3 separate regions of the Homo sapiens genome follow, and regions 1 and 2 are each linked to region 3. Evidence: promoter capture Hi-C in human tissues and cell types (Jung and others, 2019). All regions are on one chromosome and are shown on one strand. Each heading gives the region's core, a stretch centred on a gene start or on the middle of the fragment in contact. The rest is flanking DNA. Distances are from core to core; before and after follow the strand shown. Region 1 overlaps OSER1 (oxidative stress responsive serine rich 1). Region 2 overlaps TOX2 (TOX high mobility group box family member 2). Region 3 holds the start of GTSF1L (gametocyte specific factor 1 like).

Evidence for each region. The method cuts DNA at HindIII sites, captures the fragments that hold promoters and counts their contacts. A contact is called where the count stands out against the background at its distance.
Region 1: a fragment that was not itself captured here is called in contact with the fragment with the promoter of GTSF1L in region 3 in 2 of the 25 tissues and cell types used here (lymphoblastoid cells and spleen).
Region 2: a contact is called between a fragment that was not itself captured here and the fragment with the promoter of GTSF1L in region 3, in 2 of the 25 tissues and cell types used here (mesenchymal stem cells and spleen).

The regions. Positions count from the first base shown.
Region 1 is chr20:44,193,091-44,197,291 of GRCh38, reverse strand. It overlaps OSER1 (oxidative stress responsive serine rich 1), which reads left to right. Exons shown (of 4, transcript NM_016470.8): 4 at 1-1,353. The coding sequence ends at 240. Among named protein-coding and RNA genes, the nearest start is that of JPH2, 8.0 kb to the right of the region's middle. The HindIII fragment of the contact is 3,940 bases long and covers 286-4,201 here.
Region 2 is chr20:43,995,099-43,999,849 of GRCh38, reverse strand. The region is part of intron 2 of TOX2 (TOX high mobility group box family member 2); the gene reads right to left. Among named protein-coding and RNA genes, the nearest start is that of TOX2, 83 kb to the right of the region's middle. The HindIII fragment of the contact is 3,567 bases long and covers 255-3,821 here.
Region 3 is chr20:43,724,614-43,729,300 of GRCh38, reverse strand. It overlaps GTSF1L (gametocyte specific factor 1 like), which reads left to right and starts at 2,299. Exons shown (of 1, transcript NM_176791.4): 1 at 2,299-3,137. The coding sequence starts at 2,607. The coding sequence ends at 3,053. It overlaps LOC101927200 (a long non-coding RNA gene), which reads right to left and starts at 382. Exons shown (of 4, transcript XR_936741.3): 1 at 174-382. The HindIII fragment of the contact is 17,400 bases long and covers 1-4,687 here.

The DNA of each region.
Region 1 (4,201 bases), core at 1,006-3,505, 470 kb before region 3:
GTGTATTCCTTTTCAGGCCTGCAGAGTGTCCCTCCCTTGGCTCCAGAACGAAGATCCACACTTGAGGACTACTCTCAGTCGCTGCACGCCAGAACTCTGTCTGGCTCTCCCCGATCCTGTTCTGAGCAAGCTCGAGTCTTCGTGGATGATGTGACCATTGAGGACCTGTCAGGCTACATGGAGTATTACTTGTATATTCCCAAGAAAATGTCCCACATGGCAGAAATGATGTACACCTGATAGCAAGAAGCTAATTCATATGCTTTAAACCAATGAAGGCTTGTCAAAGAGATTTAGTTAATGGCAGACCTTGTGGCCACTTTGTGTGAGAAGACATCTCTTTCTGCTCACTGTGCTTGCAATAAAAACTTTTCTTGGCATCTCAGTTAATCTTCATTCTTTCAACTTACTCTCTTGAGTTCTTACATACACTTCAAGGCGAGCAGATCAAAGAAAAATCCCCCTTATTTAGAAATGTTCCTGGGGGATGAAGAAACCATAATTACTTGAGACTGGCAGCAGTGGGTATATGGTAAAAGCCTTTGTAAAACAGTGCATTTTTCAGATTTGTTTAAGGTTTGCTAGCCAAGGAAAGTAAAATGTGATTTTGTAACTGCACTAAACATTTGTCATGCTGTAGTTGCCAGCCCAGAATATTAGAAGTTACAAGACTGATTTAAACCGTCTCTGATTTAATGCAAGATATATTGTGTCTATAAAGGTTTCTCTTGTTATTGTTAAGCCAGAGATCTAAGGTTTAGATTCAATTTGAATAAACTAGCTGGCCTGCCCTCTATTGTTTGAGAGAGTTATTAACCATCACTAAATAAGCCCCTGCTGGTGCTATTCATCCTAAGACATGTTACATGCAGTTTCAAGTAAGCAGCTTGGAATGGGCTGCTTCAGTTGGAGGGAGGGGGTGTAATATTTGAAACGAGTGTGTGTCTTCACCATCTCCAGCATTTTAAATATATGGCGGTTTTTTTTTTTTTTTTTTGTTATCAGTTGTAATACAGGTCTCATACCTCAGTTTCAGATGTTATAGATGGTTACCTCTTTGAGCTGCCCTGTCACCCCAGCAACCCTAAAAGAGAATTTTGTACATTCTGTATCCCACAGATTTGGTCAGCCATTTCAAAATTCCCTCCAGTTTGGTAAAAAAAAAATCTGTCTTCGGTTTCAGCTGGATGATGAATCCTTGTTTTTCAGGTGGCTCCAAAAAGAATGTTGCATGTGTTCAGACCATCCTGAGCAGAGCCACCAAATTTAGTGACAGTGTCTAGCCATGTTAGCAATAATGTTAACAGAAGCTTTTGTTTAAATTACAAAATACATTTATACTATTTACTAAAACTGCGCTGGCTGTGGTTGATTCATGATAATGGGATGTGGGCTTCAACAAATAGGTGATTTGTACTTGGGGGAGAGGGGAAGGGTGTTTACTAGAAAAACCCTAAGCTTAAGTAGTAGTGGGAGTCCTCTGCTGGTCATTGGTTTGGTGTGGATTTAGTGACATCTGAAGGCTGTGGTTAAAGCAAGGGAGCAAAATACCTTATCACAGTTCTAGAAGCTGTGACAGATATTTCCTGATAATGGTGACAGAAGGTACACTATTTAGTATATCTAAGGCAGAAATTCTCAAACTTTTTGTAAGCACTTCCTTTACACTGACAAATTCAGGACCCAAAAGGTTTTGTTATAATCTCCAAAAGGATATAAATATTTACCATGTTAGAAATTAAAACTAAGATTTTTTTAAATATTTAAAAACTCATTACAAGCTAACAAAATTTTTGAATGAAAAATAGCTTTTCCAAAACAAAAAATAGAAGAGTGGCATTGTTCTACCTTTTTGCAAATCTTTTTTAATGTTTGGCTTAATTAGAAGACAGATTCTCATATGTTTCTGCATTCAGTCTCTGGGATATCGCATATTGTGTGGTCTCTGGCAAACTTTTGTACACTTGGGAGAATGAATGTGAAAAAGGCAACTACAGGTTGAATATTCCTTATATGAAATGCTTGGGACCAGAAGTGTTTCGGATCTCAGATTTTTTTTAGATTTTGAAAGATTTGCATTACATGCTTATCAGTTCAGCTTCCATAATCCTAAAAGCCAAACTGCTCCAATGAGCATGTCCTTTGCTCCTCATGTCAGTGCTCAAAAAGTTCTGGATTTTGAAGCATTTCAGATTAGGGACCCTCAACCTGTAATGTTTTAGTACCATGTAAATAATTTTGACCTCAGATTTCCTAAAAGGGCCTCAGGGATTCCAGGACCAAAATTTAAGCTTCTGGTTGTAAAGGTACCACCCCGCTTTCACCTCCACAACTAATGTTTTGGCTCACCTTTAAAAAAATTAAAACTGGGCCGGGCACGGTGGCTCACGCCTTTAATCCCAGCACTTTGGGAGGCCGAGGCGGGCGGAACACAAGGTCAGGAGATCGAGACCATCCTGGCTAACGCGGTGAAACCCCGTCTCTACTAAAAATACAAAAAATTAGCCGGGCGTGGTGGCTGGCGCCTGTAGTCCCAGCTGCTCAGAGGCTGAGGCAGGAGAATGGTGTGAACCCAGGAGGCGGAGCTTGCAGTGAGCCAAGATTGCGCCACTGCACTCCAGCCTGGGCAACAGAGCGAGACTCCGTCTCAAAAATAAAATAAAAGCTGTAGAGGAGTGGAGCTATTGTAATTAAGTAGTGAGCTATTCAAGTTCATGTTAAGTGGGCTTAACATGGGCTTAACATGTTCTTTGAATTAAGGCGAGTTCTTAAGCCTTTAAATCCCTTTTAGTTTGTTTTTCAAGCCAGCGCTCTGGTTATTTACTTAGTGCTGTATATTAGTGCAGCAGTCACCAGAGAATGATGATACGTATTCTTTTCATATGAAGGTGTTAGGAGGGTGTAAGTATTGAAAAGCACAAAGTTCCAATGACCTAGTAACTCAAAATCCAACTTGCATGAAAGTTTAGGCATTCCAGATTTGTGGGAATAAGTTGTAAGTTATCTACATCTCAGCAAAATCTTCCTCAAAACATGAATCTTGAAGTTAAAAATTACTCTGCTCAGACCTAATTGGCCCAACTTTAACATTAGGGTCCCTCATTGGGATATTTGACGTTCTTTTGTGAATGTGATGTACCAAACTAATCTCCTTTCTCTGATACATCTAGGAAAATGGATTTGGTTTGTGGATTGAGGGATTAAGTCTCACTCTGATGTTCCAAAAAAGTAACATCCTGATTTCCACATGCCTTTATTTAACAAGTTTTCATTGAACGTTCATTCATTCATTCATTCATTCATTCATTCAATAAATATCAAGTGCTTACAACACACCAGGGACACTGTACTAGATTCTGGGAATGGAACAGTAAGCAGAACAATATCCTTGTCCTCAGTAGAGAGAGGTGATGAACATGTAAGTTGTATGGAGAGAAAAAGAATTAGGAGATAGGAAGGGGTGGGCCAGGGATAGGGTTGCTATTTGGGGTGGGCAGAGAAGATGCTGTGATAAGGTGACATTTGAGCAGAGACCTGAAGGAAGTAAGAGAGTGAGCCATGGGGGCATCTGAGGGAGGGGCATTCTTGGCAGAAGGAACCACAGGGATGTCAATGCAACTTGAGCAGGTGGGGTCAGAGAGAGATGAGTAGGGCCAGATCATGGAGGGCCTGGTAGGCTATTTTAAAGGTGTTGGCTCTTTGGCTCTTACTGTGAGAGATAGGGAGTCATTTGGGGAAGCAGAGGAGAGAGACATGACCAGACTTAACTTTTTTTTTTTTTTGAGACAGAGTCTTGCTCTGTCACCCAGGCTGGAGTGCAGTGGCACGATCTCAGCTCAGTGCAACCTCCACCTCCCGGGTTCAAGCAATTTTTGTGTCTCAGCCTCCCAGGTAGCTGGGATCACAGGTGTGCACCACCATGTCTGGCTAATTTTTTTGTATGTTTAGTAGGGACAGAGTTTTGCCACTTTGGCCAGTCTGGTCTCAAACTCCTGACCTCAGGCAGTCTGCCCACCTTGCCCTCCAAAAGTGCTGGGATTACAGGCATGAGCCACCATGCCCAGCCGAGACTTAACCTTTTGAAAGAGCACTGGCTACTATGTGCAGACTAAGGGAAGGCAAGGAGGACAGTTAGGAAGCTACTTCAGTGAGTCAGGCAATGGGTTTGGTGGCTTGGGCACTTGGCAGTGCAGGAGATAAT
Region 2 (4,751 bases), core at 789-3,288, 270 kb before region 3:
GTACCACATTGTTTTGACTACTGTTGCTTTATGGAAATTGGGAAGTGTGAGTCCTCCAGCCTGTTATTTTTCAAGATTACTGGTGCTATTCAGGCCCCCTGGCAATTCCATATGAATTTGAGGATCAGATTTTTCATTTCTGCAAAAAAGACCAGTGGAAATTTGATAAAGATTGCATTGAATCTGTAGACGCTCAGATAGTATTGCCATCTTAACATTATTAAGTCTTCCAATCCACAGACATGGATATCTTTCAATTTATTTAGATCTTTAATTTCTTTTGACAATGTTGTGTAGTTTTCAGTTTAGGAGTTTTTCCCCTTCCTGGTTAAATTTATTCCTACATATTTTATTCTCTTAGATGTTATTATATATGGAATTTTTTTTTAGTTTCCTTTATGGGTTGTTCATTGTTGGTTTACAGAAACACCAGTGATTTTTCCATACTGATCTTGCCCTGAAACTTTGATGAATTAATTTATTAAATATTTGTTATAATTTTAAGGAAAAGCAAAAATTTTACACCATTGGAAGAACCAAAGAAAGTAGAAGAAAACAGAACTTTATCAATCTAGAAAAATCTGCAAAGAAAACAGGAGTGAACTATCAAACATAATAAAGAATATTCATAAAATGGCAGCATTAAGACTAAATATTCATAACATAATACGAATGATTTCAATTGCTTTATTAAAAGACAAAATATTTTTATTAAAATACATACAGCATATGGTTTATAATAGACATGCCTAAAATAAAATGACCTGTAAGATAAAAATAAATAGACACCAGCCGAGCATGGTGGCGCACGCCTGTAATCCGAGAACTTTGAGAGGCCAAGGTGGGTAGATCACCTCAGGTCAGGAGTCCAAGATGAGCCTGGCCAATATGGTGAAACTCCATCTCTACTAAAAATACAAAAATTAGCTGGACATGGTGGCGAGTGCCTGTAATCCCAGCTACTCAGGAGGCTGAGACAGGAGAATCCCTTGAACCCGGGAAGCAGGGGTTGCAGTGAGCTGAGATTGTGCCACTGCCCTCCATCCTGAGTAACAGAATGAGACTCCATCTTAAAATAAATAGATAGATAGATAGATAGATAGATAGATAGATAGATAGATAGATAGATGTATCAGGCCAACAAAAAGCAGAGTGGCAAAATTAATTACAAATTAAGTACAAATCAGGGCAAAAAAGCACTAAAAAATATCAAAAGGAACACTTAAGTCAATAAATGATATAAATCTACTAAGAAGAAATGACAAATTTTTATGTAAATTGATAAAACCACAGAAATATAAAATGTAAAAAACTGTTAGTATAAAACCATAAATAAAATGGGCAAATCAGTCAGATAGAAATGAGTGAGGATTGAGGATCTGAATGACGCAATTCACTCTTTTGATTTATTCCTTTCAAATGTCCATAGAACACTTACAAAATATAACCAGGTAAACTACAAAGAGAATCTCAAACTCTTCAAAAGGTAGAAATTAGATAGATCAAATTCTAAGACCTAACTACACTGATAGGCTTTGGCTTTGCATCCCCACCCAAATCTCATGTCAAATTGTAATTCTCAGAGTTCAGGCAGGGGCCTGGTGGAAGGTGATTGGATCATGGGGGCTGATTTCCCCCTTGCTGTTCTCGTGACAGTAAGTAAGTTCTCACAAGATCGGGTTGTTTGAAAGTGTGTAGCCCTTTCCCCATCTCCCTGTCTCCTGCTGCCATGTGAATATGTGCTTGCTTCCCTTTCACCCTTCTACCATGATTGTAAGTTTCCTGAGGCCTCCCTAGCCATGCCTCCTATAGAGCCTGCAGAACTGTGAATCAATTAAACCTCTTTTCTTTATAAACTACCCAGTCTCAGGTAGTTTTCTAGCAATGTGAGAACAGACTAGTACATGCACCAACCTAGTTATTAACAAAAACAAACGAGCAGAAAAAAAAATGGAGGGAGGGAAATCCTCCTACATACTTAAACACTTTAAGAGCAATCATCTAAGTAACTTCTGTGTTAAAAAGGAAATCACAACTGAAATGATGAGAACACTACCTGACAAAACTTATGAGAGATGGACAATGAAAAATTATACTTTTATCAAAATGAATTTATTAGAAGACAAGAAAGACAAACTCAGCACTCAACTCAAGATGGTAGAAATAGAATAACAAAATAAACCGAAAGTCTGTAGGAGAAAAATAAAATAGAAAACAAATTTTAGATAAGAAATACAAGGAAGAGATTGTTTTTTTGAAAAGGCTAATAAAATAAGGAACCACTGACATGAAAAAAGAAAAAGATACCCAAAAGGGAATGAAAAATATATTAATTCTTTAAAAGCCATTGAGAATTCCTTTGATACAGTATCAGGCTAATTTTGATCAATATTTATAATTTTCAGCTTGTTAATTCTATCATTTAAATCTTCCAAACAACAATTACTTTTCTTTTTCTGCTTGACCCTTTGGTTTCTGAGAGAAATGTGTTAAAAATTTCCACTGTGATTGTGATTTTATCAACCTGCTGTATTGCTTCATATATTTCAAAGCTATGTTGTTAGGTATTTACAAATCAGTTGTTATTGTATCTGCTTGTTGAAGTGTTCCTTTTATTAGTGATGGCTTTCTACTTTATCCCAGTTAGTGCTTACATGAAAGTTCTCAGGCTGCCATTTTGACTATCGATCTCCATTTCCCACCACAATGCTGTATAAGAAAGAGGTGAAGATTCACTGAGGGAGTAGCAGGTGATTTGACCTTTTTCCAAAGAGCTTGTTGAGAGTTGGAGTATAGCATAAAAGGAGAAGTGGCATTCACTCCCTGGTGATGCATGGTGAGAAATGATTCTTGGGAGAACCCAACTTGTGTCCCCAGAGTTGAATCCTGATTATGTATTCCAACAACCTTCCAGCTTTGTTGGGAGGAATATTTGAAATACATGGAAACATGAGGTGCTGTAACTCTCATGTATTGAGAGTTACATTGTTGATCTGCAGAAAGAGCTCTGGCTTTGGAGTTACACTGACATGGGGAATCTTACTTGCTGAGGGCTTCTGGCAATTTATCCAAACTGCCTACTACTCAGTTTCCTTGTCTACAAAACCCCACCTAAGAGCTGAGAGAATTATACCAGGAAACAGATGGGAAAACACATTAACAGGAAGTCAGCATAAATCCCACACACACACACCCAAGCAAGAAAAAAAAAGCCCTCGGATGATATGCAGAACAAGTAGAAAATGGCATTTCCATTTTACAGATGAGGAAACTGAGGTTCAAAAGGGAAAAATGACTTATCCAAAGTCATATGGGTAGCATTTATGAAAATGAGGACAAGAAGCCCTGCCTACCAGTAGCCAAAGCTTTGCTCTGCCACTGTTCAAGCTCCTCCCAACACACACGAGTCCTGGCTAGGCCAGGGCAGGCCTGCTCCACGCCTCTTGTTCCAGTGTCACGTTAATAATGTTTTATTTCACTCTAAACAGTGTCCTGGTTTGGCCAGTAAATTATATGGTCGCCCTACCATCTTGCCATTTTAACAAGTAAAACCCGCACCAGCAAGAACATCTCAGCTACAACATCACCGATCATTAGAGAAATGCAAATCAAAACCATAATGAGATACCATCTCACACCAGTCAGAATAGCTATTATGAAAAAGCCAAAAAATAACAGATCCTGGCAAGGTTGCAGAGAAAAGGTAACACTTACACTGTTGGTAGGAGTGTAAATTAGTTCAACCATTGTGGAAAGCAATATAGCAATCACTCAAAGAACAAAAAGCAGAACTACCATTCAACCCAGCAATCCCATTACTGGATATATACCCAGAAGAATATAAATCATTCTTCCATAAAGACATGTGTACACAAATGTTCATTGCAGGACTATTCACAACAAACATGGAATCAACCTGAATGACCATCAAGGACAGATTGGATAAAGAAAATGTTGTATGTGGTACATATACACCATGGAATACTATGCAGTCATAAAAAAGAATGACATCATGTCTTCTGTAGGAACATGGATGGAGCTGGAGGCCATTATCCTTAGTAAACTAATGCAGGAACAGAAAAGCAAATACCACATGTTCTCACTCACAAGTGAGAGCTAAGTGATAAGAACTCATCAACACAAGAAAAGGAAAAACAGACACTGGGTTCTACTTGAGGGTGGGAGGAGGGAGAGGAGCAGAAAAAATAACTAATGGGTACTAGGCTGAATACCTGGGTGACAAAATAATCCGTACATCAAATCCCCACGACACAAGCTTACCTATATAACAAACCTTCACACGTACCCCTGAACCTAAAATAAAAGTTTAAAAAAAGCCATCTCTGCTAAAAGACTGTAGTGCGATTCAGTGTTTCTCAACTCTGTTTTCACAACAGAAAATGACATCTTATCAAAACTCCAAACCCCAACAACTGGAGCTGAGCTCCTAGCACTGTAACTTCTTATCACGGGTATAGTGATTTTATGAATTCTGCGGGGAATGAAATGCAATTTTGTCAGGCTTGTCTGTGTCCATAATGACCGAGTCAAATTAATCATCTCAGATAATACCCCTATGTCACCCACCCCAGACATGTTTAATAGAATCTTTCTGATTCGAGTCTCACCATACATCAGATCTGGAGTATTGTAGCACTTCTGAAAATCAGGACAATTATGCCTTTTGCTTGGCCTGTCATTTTCCTGGACTAAAAATGCTTCTTAAAAAATAAAAAACTAAAAGTCCATAC
Region 3 (4,687 bases), core at 1,050-3,549:
TCTTCCATGGGGAAGAATATGCTCCGTGTGTGTGGAGAAAAGAGAAATGAATGCTGGTGACGAGAAGGGCAGACTGGGGAAGCCCTCAGGACTTCCCAAAGTTCCTATTCTCCTCCTTCTGGGCATGTGGAAAGACCGTACCTCCTTGCTCTTTGAAGTTAGGTAGGACTTACTTTGAACCATGAAACAGTAGCGGAAGTGATGTTTATCATTTCCTGGTGGAAGCTCGCGCATGACTCCCCACATCCTCTTCCTTCTTCTAGAAGGAAGCAAGTGTTGCTATGGAGGCTCCATCAGCCTGGCTCCATTAACCACAAGGAGCAGATCCCCAATACCCCTCCCCAACCCAGAAACCTGCTTTAGACTTGAAAGTGACTCATAAGCCTTCGTTGTTTTAAGCTACTGAAGTTTTGGCACTGTACGTTATTGCAGCCTAACCTTGCCTATCCTGACTGGCACACCCAGAATAAATGGTGTAGTTATGAAAGATGCCTTTTTTTAGAATCCTTTGTCTAATCTTTTGTCTATACCTGGGTTCCCATTACAATTTCTTACTATGACATCAGTGAGTGTCATGTTGCTAAATTGTCTGCATGTCATATGATAGTAACAAGACATCCCACATGTATGATCAGTTGCAATTATGTAACAATGTAGACAAAGCCAATCACTTCAATTCTCAAAAAAGGCTGAACACCATAGCTAGGATGTGGAGAGATGGAAAAAGTGTCATTTACAATGACAAAAAAAAAAGAAAAAGAAAAAACCATAAAGCATCATAGATTAATTTTTTTTTAACGTGCAAAAAATAGAAAGAAAACTACAAAGCCTACCTGAAAAGACACCATCAATAGAGCTTAGTAAATACCAGGAAACACACACACACACATACACACACACACACTCACACACACACCTTCCCCAAGGTCACATGGCTGGTAAGTGGCAGGAGGTAGAATTTGAATACAGTCAGCTTCCTTAACCACCACCAAGAATAGGATGGGTGAGCTTTTTCTATAATGGGCCAGACAGAAAACATTAGAGGTTTCTAGGTCATCTGGATTCTGTTGCAACTACTCAAATCTAGCTCAAAAGCAGCCAATGGACAATATATAAACAAATGGGTGTGGCTGTGCTTCAATAAAACTTTATTTACAAAAGCAGATAGCCATCTGGATTTGAATCATGGGCCCATAGTTTGTTGACACATGATCTAGAATAACAAATCCTTGAAGATAGTCAAGGCTTTTGGGGGGAAAACTAATAACAAGCAGAGACTTGCTCTATCAGATATCAGCACATAAAGCTACAAAAATTATTTGGAATTGCATTATATTTATGTATCAATTTAGGATGACTATGTAATTTATGTAATTTAGTTTACAGAGAATATTCATTTATGATTTTGAGTCTTCCTATTCAGGAATATGGTATTTCTCTACTGTCACTCAGATCTTGAGAAACAATTTAACAGGGTGGGGGGTGGGAAGGAGCTCCAGGCCAATTTTTAGAAGAAATCCTACCTAACACCAGACATGTAAATAGAATGTCAGAGGACCAAAACCACTAACACCCTGAGATATGTGTCAATTGCGTCCATTCAGACTTTGGTCCAGTTCTGTGAGGGACAACGGCAGGGTCGACCTAAGATGGGGCGTTTTATAGGAAATGTTTCCCATGTTAAGCTGAACACCAAAAGGCTTCACCTTCTGCGATATATGAATAGATTTAAACCCTTCCCCCACACCCAAGGAGACTAGGCTGCTGTGGGCCTCAGCAGAGCAGAAGGGTAAAGAAAGACGGCCCTGAGAATCACATCCAAAAACCAGCCCTGGCAAAGCGCAGGGGCTCACACCTATCATCCCAGCACTTTGGGGGGCTGAGGCGGGTGGATCACCTGAGGTCAGGAGTTCAAGACCAGCCTGGCCAACATGGTGAAACCCGTCTCTACTAAAAATACAAAAAATTAGCCGGGCATGATGGCAGGTGCCTGTAATCCCAGCTACTCGGGAGCCTGAGGCAGGAGAATCACTTGAACCTGGGAGGCGGAGATTGCAGTGGGCCAAGATCGCACCACTGTACTCCAGCCTGGCAACAGAGCGAGACTCTGTCTCAAATAAAACAAAAACAAAAACAAAAAACAAATACGTACAGTTAAAAGACTTAAGTCACAACATACATCCATGAGCAATTTTAGATGGCAGCATTCCCAAAGCCATCCACCCCTCCCAAGCAGTGCACAATAGCCTCTTCCTGATGACTTAGGCTGCCCATTGTGACCACCGGTGACTGCAGCTTGACATCATAGTATATCCGTGAGTCAAGCGGCTGTGGGTTTTTGGCTCTTGCATCTGCTATAGTTCTGTCTCGGGTGCCATTTGCTAACTCTGTTCTCTGTGTAGCTGCTTTTGGCAGCTCCTCATCTCTCTTCTAATCCACCACTCACAGTCCTAGAGAACAGACCACAAGTTAAGACCGTCACCTACAGAATCCCAAGGGCCAAAACTGGGCAGAGGACAACTCCATCCTTCTTACAAAAGGGCTTCTCCACAAGAAGCATTTCCGTTAGACTCTAGCAGTGAGATACCCTGCTTCAAGAATTTCTCATGGAGCCAGAAGCCTTTGAAATTTGCCCTTATGATCCTCACCACCGAATCCCACTCAGCAGATTCCAGTACCACCTGGCATCGTGCAGGAGAAAGAACCCCAAGAAAGCCAAAAAGATGGCCACCTGCAAATACAACGCCTGCCACGTGGTCCCCATCAAAAATCTGGAGGAACATGAGGCTGTTTGTGTCAACAGGAGCGCTGTGGAAGAAGAGGACACCGAGAACCCTCTGAAAGTCAGTCCTCCTAGTTCAGAGCAGAACGATGACACCCAGCAGGTCTCACCCTGCCTTCCCAGCCCCGATATCTGGAATGTCGATGGCGCTAATTGCCAGCATGTGTTTGTCCTTAAGACTTTTTTTCCTCAAAAGGTTGTTTGTGAAAATGACACGAAAGAGTCAGCAAGAGAGACCAGTCCCCAGAAGATCCTCAGACCAGGACAGTAAACTGCCAGCTGAGGAAGGAGCACACGCCTCATCAATGCATGGAAGAACGTGCAATGCATCAGAATAAAAGACATGCAAAGTAAACTACCCTGGGCTACCTCTTTTTTTAACCTGGCAGATTGATAAATATCAAAAGGCTTAAAATACTCTGCTGGCAAAGGTAGGGCAAAATGGGCACTTTCATAACATTGGTGAGAATGTCAGTTGGTACAACCTCCACAGAGGGCAATTTGACAATAGCTATAAACATTATCAATGCATACAGGCTTTGATTGAGCAATTCCACTTCCAGGCTTCATTCTGTAAATATAATCACACATGTGGAAAATGAGCTAAGTACTAGCTTATTCACTGCAGCATTATTTGCAGCAGCAAAAGAGTTAGAAATGAGCCAGGTGTGTTGAATCACAGCTGTAGCCTGTTACTCTGGGAGCTGAGGCGAGAGGATCGCTTGAGTTCAGCCTGGGCAACATAGTGAGATCCTGTCTTAAGCAACAAAAAAAAAAGTCAAAAATGACCTAAATATCCATTAAAAGGGCCTGATTAAAAATAAGTTATACTGCAGCCATACAACAAAATATTATGCCGCCTTAAAAAAAGTGAGGAAGCTCTTTCTGTGCTGATATAGAAAGGTTGAGACACACTGTTGAGCTCAGAGGTCAGCAAACTGTTTCTGTAAAAGGCCAGATGGCAAATATCTTAGCCTTTGTCAGCCACACAGTCTGTGTTGCAACTACTCGGCCCTGCCACTGCAACACGAGAGCAGCCACATATAATATGTAAACAAATGAACAGAGGTTCCAATAAAATGCCTTACAGCCACAGGTGGCAGGCTGGACTTGACTGGTGGGCCATGGTTTGCCAACCCCCAGTTTAACTGATAAAAACCAAGTCCAGGCCGGGCCCGGTGGCTCATGCCTGTAATCCCAGCACTTTGGGAGCCGGAGGCGGGCCAATCACCTGAGGTGTGGAGTTCGAGGCCAGCCTGGCCAACATGGCAAAACCCCATCTCTACTAAAAATACAAAATTTAGCCGGGCGTGTGGTGGGCACCTGTAATCCCAGCTACTCAAGAGGCTGAGGCAGGAGAATAGCTTGAACCCGGGAGCAGAGGCTGCAGTTAGCCGAGATCACGCCATTGCAATCCAGCCTGGGTGACAGAGCGAGACTTTGTCTCAAAAAAAAAAAAGGAAAAAGAAAAGAAAAAACAAAAACAAGTCCAGAGCAGTCTATACAGTATGCCACCATTTGGGGAGAGTTGCGGGAGAAGACATGAATATGTATGTGCTTGTTTTTGCATAAAATTTCTCTTTAAGGATACTCTAGAATGGAGATCTGTCCACAAAGCCTGAAATTTTTCAACCTGTTGCCTAATAGAAAAATTTGCTTGCCTCTTCACTAGAAACTGATATTGTCTGCCTCCAGGGAAGACAAGAGAGAGCCCTTCTTTACTATTGACTCTTTAGAATCTTTTACATGGGAATATATATGAATATGTTATCTGGTCAAAAATTAAACTATATTTTTTTAAACAGCAGGTAGAAGACTTAAGTCCTTTGAAAGTTTTTCAGGAGGAAATCTTAACTGTTAAGTTTTTTTTTTGTTTTTTTGTTGAGACAGAGTCCTCGCTCTGTC